3 separate regions of the Homo sapiens genome follow, and all the other regions are linked to region 1. Evidence: promoter capture Hi-C in human tissues and cell types (Jung and others, 2019). All regions are on one chromosome and are shown on one strand. Each heading gives the region's core, a stretch centred on a gene start or on the middle of the fragment in contact. The rest is flanking DNA. Distances are from core to core; before and after follow the strand shown.

Evidence for each region. The method cuts DNA at HindIII sites, captures the fragments that hold promoters and counts their contacts. A contact is called where the count stands out against the background at its distance.
Region 2: a contact is called between the fragment with the promoter of ALG9 here and a fragment that was not itself captured in region 1, in 2 of the 25 tissues and cell types used here (bladder and hippocampus).
Region 3: a contact is called between the fragment with the promoter of DLAT here and a fragment that was not itself captured in region 1, in 3 of the 25 tissues and cell types used here (dorsolateral prefrontal cortex, hippocampus and spleen).

What each region holds. Positions count from the first base shown.
Region 1 is chr11:111,943,621-111,946,901 of GRCh38, reverse strand. The region is part of intron 1 of DIXDC1 (DIX domain containing 1); the gene reads right to left. Among named protein-coding and RNA genes, the nearest start is that of DIXDC1, 7.9 kb to the right of the region's middle. The HindIII fragment of the contact is 6,003 bases long and covers 1-3,281 here.
Region 2 is chr11:111,870,227-111,873,172 of GRCh38, reverse strand. It overlaps ALG9 (ALG9 alpha-1,2-mannosyltransferase), which reads left to right and starts at 1,592. Exons shown (of 15, transcript NM_024740.2): 1 at 1,592-1,821; 2 at 2,803-2,941. The coding sequence starts at 1,691. RefSeq lists a silencer at 1,647-1,956. The HindIII fragment of the contact is 8,331 bases long and covers 1-2,946 here.
Region 3 is chr11:112,023,908-112,026,910 of GRCh38, reverse strand. It overlaps DLAT (dihydrolipoamide S-acetyltransferase), which reads right to left and starts at 1,503. Exons shown (of 14, transcript NM_001931.5): 1 at 1,160-1,503; 2 at 612-713. The coding sequence starts at 1,438. RefSeq lists enhancers at 1,502-1,701, 2,352-2,541. The HindIII fragment of the contact is 3,303 bases long and covers 1-2,982 here.

The DNA.
Region 1 (3,281 bases), core at 217-2,716:
GCACTCAGAATGGTCCAGCATTTGGCATACCATTGTAGGCTTTTCTGCAATACAGCCTCTAACAAAATTAGGCTGTCCCAAATCCCTGTTCACAGAACTGTTTACCTTCATACCAAGAAGGTTGGGAAAACACCAAAATCTGCATGTGGCGTGTGCCCAGGCCGACTTCAATGAGTTCCTGCTGTGACACCTAAAGTTCTTAAGAGGTTCTCCAAAATAAACAAAGGAAAAAAAACATGTTGGCTGGGTGCAGTGGCTCATGCCTGTAATTCTAGCACTTTGGGAGGCTGAGGTAGGCAGATCACTTGAGGCCAGCAATTACAGACTAGCTTGGCCAGCATGGCAAAACTCCGTCTCTACTAAAAATACAAAAAAACTGACCAGGTGCAGTGGCTCACACCTGTAATCCCAGCACTTTGGGAGGCCAAGGTGGGCAGATAGCTTGAGGTCAGGAGTTCGAGACCAGCCTGGCCAACATGGCAAAGCCCCATTTCTAATAAAAATACAAAAATTAGCCTGTAATCCCAGCACTTTGGGAGGCCAAGGCGGGCGGATCATGAGGTCAGGAGATCGAGACCATCCTGGCTAACACGGTGAAACCCCGTCTCTACTAAAAATACAAAAAATTAGCCGGGCACAGTGGTAGGCGCCTGTGGTCCCAGCTACTAGGGAGGCTGAGGCAGGAGAATGGCGGGAACCCAGGAGGCGGAGCTTGCAGTGAGCCGAGATCGCACCACTGCAGTCCGGCCTAGGCGAAAGAGCAAGACTCCATCTCAAAAAAAAAAAAAAATACAAAAATTAGCCGGGCGTGGTGGCAGGCGCCTATAATCCCAGCTACTTGGGAGGCTAAGGCAGGAGAATCACTTGAACCCAGGAGGCGGAGTTTGCAGTGACCCAAGATCGTGCCACTGCACTTCAGCCTGAGCGACAGAACGAGACTCCATCTCAAAAAAAAAAAAAAAAAAAATTAACCGGGCTGGTGGTGTATGCCTGTAATTCCAGCTACTTGGGAGGCTGAGGCACAAGAATCCTTTGACCCCAGGATGCAGAGGTTGCAGGGAGCTGAGATCGTGCCACTGCACTCCAGCCTGGGCAACAGAGCAAGACTCTGTCTCAAAAAAAAATCCATGTCAGCAAGGCCTGTGGTTGTTCTATGTGTACTAAATGTGTCTGTGACAGAACCAAGCGTGCCTTCCTTATTCAGGAAAAGAAAAAGTATTGAACACACCAGCACAAAGTCAGAAAACTAAACAAATAAATGAAGCTCTTTCGCATAACAATTAAAAAAAAAAAGAATTATATTTTGATTATGACCCTGGATCTTGGTCAAGAGAGGCAAAGTAGGAATGATCAGATTCCAGCTAGGCTTACAGTGATAGTGTAGCTAACAGCTCCTGGGGTAGCTGCCCAGCCCACAATGATTCCCTCTTCTTTAAGAACCCTCCTCTGTGCACACAGTGGTGGGTCCTATGACCAGGTTGGTATTGTATCACCCCCTCCACTGGTCACACTTGATTGGTCTGCCAAAGTTGATTGGTGAAAGCCAGCCAATCCCTGGAACTTTCTGAACTGGCATTTAGGAATAGAATCAGTCTTCCTCCTCCTCCCTCATCTCTCTCAAAGTTGTAAGATATAAAACTTAGACGTTGCCATAGGCCATGCTGCCCACCTGAGAAGGAAAAACCAGCTCTAGTAAATGGGAATAAAGCCAGCATAGAAAGAAGCAGACAAGAGGCAGAGAACAGAGGAAGAGATCCTGCCAGTGTCAGAGTTCTTGATTTCATTGTTTCTGCTGCATCCCTGCCCTTTCCATGGTTTAGTTTTTCTGCCTTTCCTTGGATTCCATGAGTCAATAACGTCCACTTCCTATCCCTGCTAGTTCAAGTTGGGTTTTTGGCACTTGTAACCGAACTAATTTTTTAAAAAAGACCAAGACAGTTGGTACATACTACGTGTGTAACAGTGTTGAACTAATCTCAGTCTGGAGTTTCATGACTAATTTGTTCTAAGGAAGCTAAAAGGATGCCAGTGTAATAAATGTCTAGAACAACTGAAGGTTTTCATGGTAACCACCCTCTGAGTCAGGCCTCAGAAGAAGTCAGTCAGTAGACATAACAAGAGTTAAAACTGTCTGAGAAGGATTTTGGCTTGATGAGACTGGACCCCTCTAAAGTTGTGAGAGCAGTGATAGTACCACGAGGTGGCCGGTGGAAGGAGGCTTTAGCAATCCCATAATCTCCATCAGCTTCCTCCAAGACACTCCAAATAACCCTATGATTTTAGGTAAAAGTCTTCTAGTATACACAATTCCATCCAAAATCTTCATTTGTGCAGGAAATCTTGACCTTGAAAGCTTTCTTGCCACCAAATGTAACCTTCTTCCTGTTTTTCTTTGGGACCTGCCCTTCCTTCCAAACAGGTTTGTAAGCCGAGCCTCAGTTCTCTATCTCCTCCAAGACTCAAGCTCACAGAATTCCTGCAGGGGACTTATTTGCTAGAGTTGCGAAAGCACCAATGGGGCTTCACCAGGGAAGTATGTGGTATCTACTGTTCTTAGAGCAGAAACAGCCAAGGAGGCGACTCTATGTTTTCCTGCTGGCAACAAGAAAAGCAAACAAGAAAAGCAGAGAGCTTTTGTGGTATGCTAGAGAGACAGTTCAGGAGGAGACATGAATGGCTCAGGAAGGAAATTAGTTTTACAGTGAAACCAGATACCTGTTTAGAACTCTGAGACCCTCCAGCAGCAGAAGATGAGGAGATGAGGGTGGGGAAGTTGCTGAGAAACTAAGAGCAAGGCTAGAGATTTAAAAACCTTATGTTATTATTGGCCTAAATTCTGCCAGTAAACACCCTATTGTATTTCTTTTCTATTAACTCTTTCAGCCCTTTACTGAACCTGCAAAAGCTATTTGTTCATTGAATTTGATGGCTAATTGGGTACAAATAAAGTTCACAAGTAAAAATATCCTTGAATTTCTTCTTCCTTTCATGGACAGGTTCTTTGTACAGAAGTCTCCCTTACCCATAGTTTTTCTTTCCACAGTTTCAACCACCCATGGTCAACCACCGTCTGAATATATTAAATAGAAAATTCCAGAAATGGGCCAGGCGCAGTGGCTCATGCCTGTAATCCCAGCACTTTGGGAGGCTGAGGTGGGCGGATCACGAAGTCAGGAGATCGAGACCATCCTGGATAACACGGTGAAATCCCATCTCTACTGAAAATACAAAAAATTTAGCCAGGCGTGGTGGCACGCATCTATAGTCCCAGCTACTCGGGA
Region 2 (2,946 bases), core at 343-2,842, 74 kb after region 1:
TGGGAGATAAGATTGGAACGGTAAGTTGGGGCTGGAGTTCATGAATACCAAATGCTAGAATAAGGAGTTTGTACTTTATTTGGTAGGCAATAGGAAAACATCCGGTGGTTTTTTATTAAGGAAGTGCCCCAGAGTAGTGCTTTGGAAAATTAACTGGTTAATGTTGCACAGGATGAATTTGAGATGAGTGATCCCTGTGGAGATGCTATTGTGTTAGTCCTACGTAGACAGGGAGGGACCTGCATTAGACTTAAATGAAAAGGAGGAGATGGGTATATGAGATACAGTTAGGCTGGGTGTAGTGGCTCACGCCTATAATCCCAGCATTCTGGGAGGCTGAGGTAAGTGGATCACTTGAGGCCAGGAGTTCCAGACCAGCCTGGCCAACATGACGAAACCTAATCTCTACTAAAAATACAAAAATTAGCCAGTGTGGTGGCAATAGTCCCTGCTACTAGGGAGGCTGAGGCAAGACAATCTCTTGAACCTAGGGGGCAGAGGTTGCAGTAAGCTGAGATTGTGCCACTGCACTCTAGCCTGGGTGAGCAAGGAAGACTCTTGTCTCAAAAAAAAAAAAAAAAAAAGAAGAAAAAGAAAAGAAAAAAAGAGTTAAGCTGGATATTTGAACTTGGTAACTAATGACTGCATGTGAGAATTGAGCAATATGATCAATCTCCATTTTCAATACTTGGGAATTTTTAGTAGGAAATCACAACCTTCTGAGACCTTGTCAAGAGATTAGCATTCCCTCTATAAACTTGTCCCAGTTACTGGCATGGAGCTCGACAGGGTAGGATATAGCTCTGTGATTAGAGGAGTGGATAGAGTGTCAGGATTAGATGAATGACCCCCAAGATATGGGGGTCACAGGTATGATATCATCAATGTGCCAGTATAAAAATGATTGTAGGAAATGAAGACCTTTCACCAGATCTGGTGGGAAGAGAGAGCATGGGCTTTCCGGTAAGATAGTCCTGGGCTGGAACATAGCTCCACCATTTACTAGCTCCAAGTTTATTTAGTTTCCTGGTAAATAAAACAAGGTTGTTGTATTAAGTTTAAAAAGGATAAAATATGTAAAATGCCTACCACAATGCCGTAGTAGCGATGACAGTGATGGACATCTGGTTCAATTTGCCGCACAGAATTTCATCAGTCTACACTCTGCCATTACCGGTTTGTCTCTCTGAAGCAGTTTTTAGCTACAGGCTGCCTCTGTCACTCTTACCAAAATACAGAGAAGGCAAGGTGTTAAAAATGACATTTTAAGGACCTTTTAGTAGATAGCTGTGCTGTGATATTTAACTGAATACTTCACATCTCACTATGTAGATTTCTTTAATCACTTTCTATTTGTTTTTTCATTTAAATAGGGGAGCTGAGAGGTGGTTTTTTTTTTTTTTGAGAATGGAGAATGCTGAAAAGTGACGGAAAAGAGGGTTGGAGGGAGGTAGGAATGGCTAGAGTTAGAAGCAGGTGGATGGGACAGCCCTGATGAAGAAACTCCTCAGGTTCTATTTCTTCGCTACTCGGGGATCTGCCCCAATTGGCCCAGTAACGCTATAATTTAGTATTTTCTGCGCATGTCAAGGTCTTTTGTCCCTCGGCGGACACCGTTTGCCAGCCAAAGCTATGTCTGCGCGCTCACCGACTTCATAGGGTGCCGAATTCTTTTTTCCCCAGGCTTGCCATGGCTAGTCGAGGGGCTCGGCAGCGCCTGAAGGGCAGCGGGGCCAGCAGTGGGGATACGGCCCCGGCTGCGGACAAGCTGCGGGAGCTGCTGGGCAGCCGAGAGGCGGGCGGCGCGGAGCACCGGACCGAGTACGTGTGCGGCGCGGCAGGGGCGTGGCCGGCCGGCGGGGCGGTTCGGGGCTGCCCCCGGGAGGGTCTTAGCTGTGGCGCGCGGGGCTCAGTCCGGCCTGGCCTCACCGCGGGAGGCCCGAGCTCCCTCTTCAGCTAGGTCCTATTGGTCTTCCTGGGCGGGTCAGCATTCAGTCTTCGCCCACCTTAGATCCCTCCACTGCGCTGTAAAACTGCCTTGGAGTGCGGATCTGTGATGCTCCTGGGCCAGGCCTAGAGTGGGCACAGCCTCTGTGGGAGATGTAGACAGGATCAAAGAGTATACCTTTTACGGCTGTTCCTCACAGCTCCTTTTATTCTCCCTCAAGTCCCGACCCTTTACTGGGCCCATCCAACCCGCCATCACCTCTTCCCAAACCCTGGAGGCTGCAGGTTAGAACTGCATTAAGGGAGCTGTCAACATATGGAATTGGAGTAGGCTATGTACCTTGCACCTAGGCTTCTATCTGAACATAAGGGGGAATGAATAAAGCCATCAAAAGCAATGACCTTGTTAAGAAAAGAAAGAAAAGGAGAATGACAGCTTTGTGGCCTTCAAGTGAGTGATTAGTTGGCTTGGGATAAATGGAGTGACATAAATGCATTGAGCTAAAGTGTATGAGTTAATTTATGCCTTAAAAGCAGGAAGTGGAAGGAGTGATTGAGTGATTAAAGTCAATTCTTCAGAAGGCTGAGGCAGGAGGATTACTTGAGCCTAGGAGTTTAAGTCCAGCCTGGGCAACATAGCAAGACCCTATCTCATAAAAATTTTTTCTTAAAAATCTGAATTTTTATTAATTTTACTGAGAAAAAACAACTAGCTATTCACCTTTTTAGGTGAATAACTTAAGTGCTTTGATGTCCCTTGCCCTTTTTGTCCTTTCTATCTAGATTTAGGTCTTCTGATTAGCAGGTCCTTCCTGACATGCTTTTTTTTTTTTTTTTTTTTTTGCTTTTGAACAGGTTATCTGGGAACAAAGCAGGACAAGTCTGGGCACCTGAAGGATCTACTGCTTTCAAGTGTCTGCTTTCAGCAAGGTTATGTGCTGCTCTCCTGAGCAACATCTCTGACTGTGATGAAACATTCAACTACTGGGAGCCAGTAGG
Region 3 (3,003 bases), core at 254-2,753, 80 kb before region 1:
TGAGGGGCGCCTCTGCCCAGCCGCCCCTACTGGGAAGTGAGGAGCCCCTCTGCCCGGCCACCACCCTGTCTGGGAGGTGTACCCAACAGCTCATTGAGAACGGGCCATGATGACAATGGCGGTTTTGTGGAATAGAAAGGGGGGAAAGGTGGGGAAAAGATTGAGAAATCGGATGGTTGCCGTGTCTGTGTAGAAAGAGGTAGACATGGGAGACTTTTCATTTTGCTCGGTACTAAGAAAAATTCTTATCCTGTTGATCTGTGACCTTACCCCCAACCCTGTGCTCTCTGAAACATGTGCTGTGTCCACTCAGGGTTAAATGGATTAAGGGCAGTGCAAGATGTGCTTTGTTAAACAGATGCTTGAAGGCAGCATGCTCCTTAAGAGTCATCACCACTCCCTAATCTCAAGTACCCAGGGACACAAACACTGCGGAAGGCCGCAGGATCCTCTGCCTAGGAAAACCAGAGACCTTTGTTCACTTGTTTATCTGCTGACCTTCCCTCCACTATTGTCCTATGACCCTGCCAAATCCCCCTCTGCGAGAAACACCCAAGAATGATCAATAAAAAAAATAAATAAATTAATTAAAAAAAAAAAAAAAAACTTACCTCTGCAATTAGGTCACCTTCATTGATTTTGTCCCCCTCTTTTTTTTCCCAACGGGCTATGGTGCCTGCCTGCATTGTGGGGGAAAGAGAAGGCAATGGAACCTGGAAAAGGAAAAGAAGAAACATTAAAATTTTTAAGGACTACCTAACTCTCAGTCTGGCTTAAGATTTCATTCAATTCAATTTCATGCAAAGTGTATACAGTTCCATTGCACATTGGGAACTAGGGATGCCAAGGGAGTTCCTGTCCATGAGAAGTTAGTAATTTCCAGTGACAGGCTTTCTCCTCCACAGTCCTGTGGGTCTGACAAAGCATGAACCTCGGCAGATATTCTGCATACAGCCCCAGTCTTGAAGCTCTCCTTTCAATGAAATAGATCATGAGAGGGACACTAAGGAGCTACAGCAAAGCCAACTATTGGACAAAGGGCCAAAGCAGATACTGGGAATGGGTGGAGGATCAGTGAGGCCTCTCAAGGAGGATCTTGCAGGCATCCAGTCAGCTCTGAAGGACAACGGGGTCCCGAGAAGGGGGGTCTAGGGCTCACCTTCTGATGCGGGGGAAGACTGTAATAGCGGCGGCCGGGCGACCCCAAAAGCTGCAGCAGTAAGCGGTTCCGCGGCGTGGCCCCAGAACTGGGGGTCCAGCCGCACAGTGCCCGGACCCCGCCATACCCTGTAGTCACGCTGTTGCGACGAGCGGGAGCCGGGCCAGATCGCGAGGTCACTCGTGGAGTTCCGGGTACCTCCTGCAAGGCCGTCCACCGAGCCTCGAGTCCCGCCCATGGGGCTACATTCTGAGCCCGTCGCGCACAGACGCGCCACATAGTGCCACCAACCCCCCACACCCCAAAACCAACGCCGTCTCCGGAGTGACCTCTCCAAGAGCAGCGGCGTTGCCGTCAGCCACACCGCACAGCCGCACGTTGTCGTAAAATGGTTCCCGCAGGTTTACTCCACCCGCTCCCCAGGCCAGAAATGCGCGGCACGCACGCTCTTTCTCTACGGAGCGGGGACGAGGGGCACTACGGGGCAGGAGTGTTCCAGAGGGGCCTGTGCGGGCGCAAGTTTGGGAGAAATAACAGACGGAAAGGGGTGGAAAGTGGTAGGGTTCTAGGGGAGGCATCCGAAAGGGTGAGACGGGGCCTAAGAGATGACAAGGGCACGACCGAGGGGGAGGGGCCTAAAAAGGCGCAGAGACGCGGGTTAATTGCGGCCGAGTGGCCTGAGAGTCTGGGCCGAGGGGCGTGGCCAAGCTTTCTGGAAAAGCTGGAAGTGAGCCCGGGAACTGGCTAGGGCAGTGGGAGCCTCAGGCCAAAGGGCGGGGGTCTTGGAGTGCTGGGGTGGTGAAGGAGCCAGGAATCGCCCGCGAGGGAATCGAGGGGTCCGGCGTGGTGACCTCTGCTTCTGCGCATCCGAAGGGGGATGGACTGGGCCGCGCCCCGCGCAGGCTGTACTGGTTGCAAAGATTTCGTTTCAGGTTTGTAGCCCAAGTGGAAAGTGGAGTGAACAGGTGTTCCACCCAGCCAAGTGGTAACGAAAGGCAGCCCAGAGGAAGATACATTCCCGCATTCATGTATACTGTAGCAAGATTAAGCATATTCCCTGTATGAAGATATAGGTTTACAAAACAGGTGTTGCTCCCTAATACCATAGAATTCTTTTAAGTAACCAAAAGCTTCGTTATGTTTCAAATGTTTGAAAAACTTAACTGTAAGCCGTTGAAGGCATGAAGAGTGTCTGCGTGGTCCTTCCATGTAGCCCCAGAGCTTAATATCCAGTAAATAGCGGGGGCTGAATGTATGTCTTTTGAATCAATGAATAAAAAGTCATCTACACATTTTGTTAGGCACGCTTCTCTTGTAAAGTTGTCTTTTAATTAGAAAACATATCGTTTCTGAACTGAAGGTGACATTAGATAAGGAGGAAGCATGTGCTGTGTATCACCACCTCCCCCCTGTAGAGATGGTTAGAGAACACCAAGAACGCAAGAGGAAGTTGGAGGGAAGAAACTTAAAACAAGATTTTAGCCAGGAGCGGTGGTGCATGCCTGTAGTCCCAGCAATGCTTGAGAGGCTGAGGTGGGGGAATCACTTGAGCCCAAGAGTTTGAGACCAGCCTGGGCAACATAATGAGACTCCCATCTGTTAAAAAAAAAAAAAAATGGGGGCTAATCTTGCTAACAATTAATTTGGAAAACTAAAACAGATTGGATGTACTATTTCATGCCTACTTAAATTGGAATGTTTAAGCAGGTACAGCTGTCTATCAGAATAATATGTAAGCAATATAATTGAGAAATATAAAATTTCTAGATTGAATGAAAAGGCATATTTTAAATAATATGAAGAGAGCAATTATATTGTTACAATTATGTACAACTTATGAATTA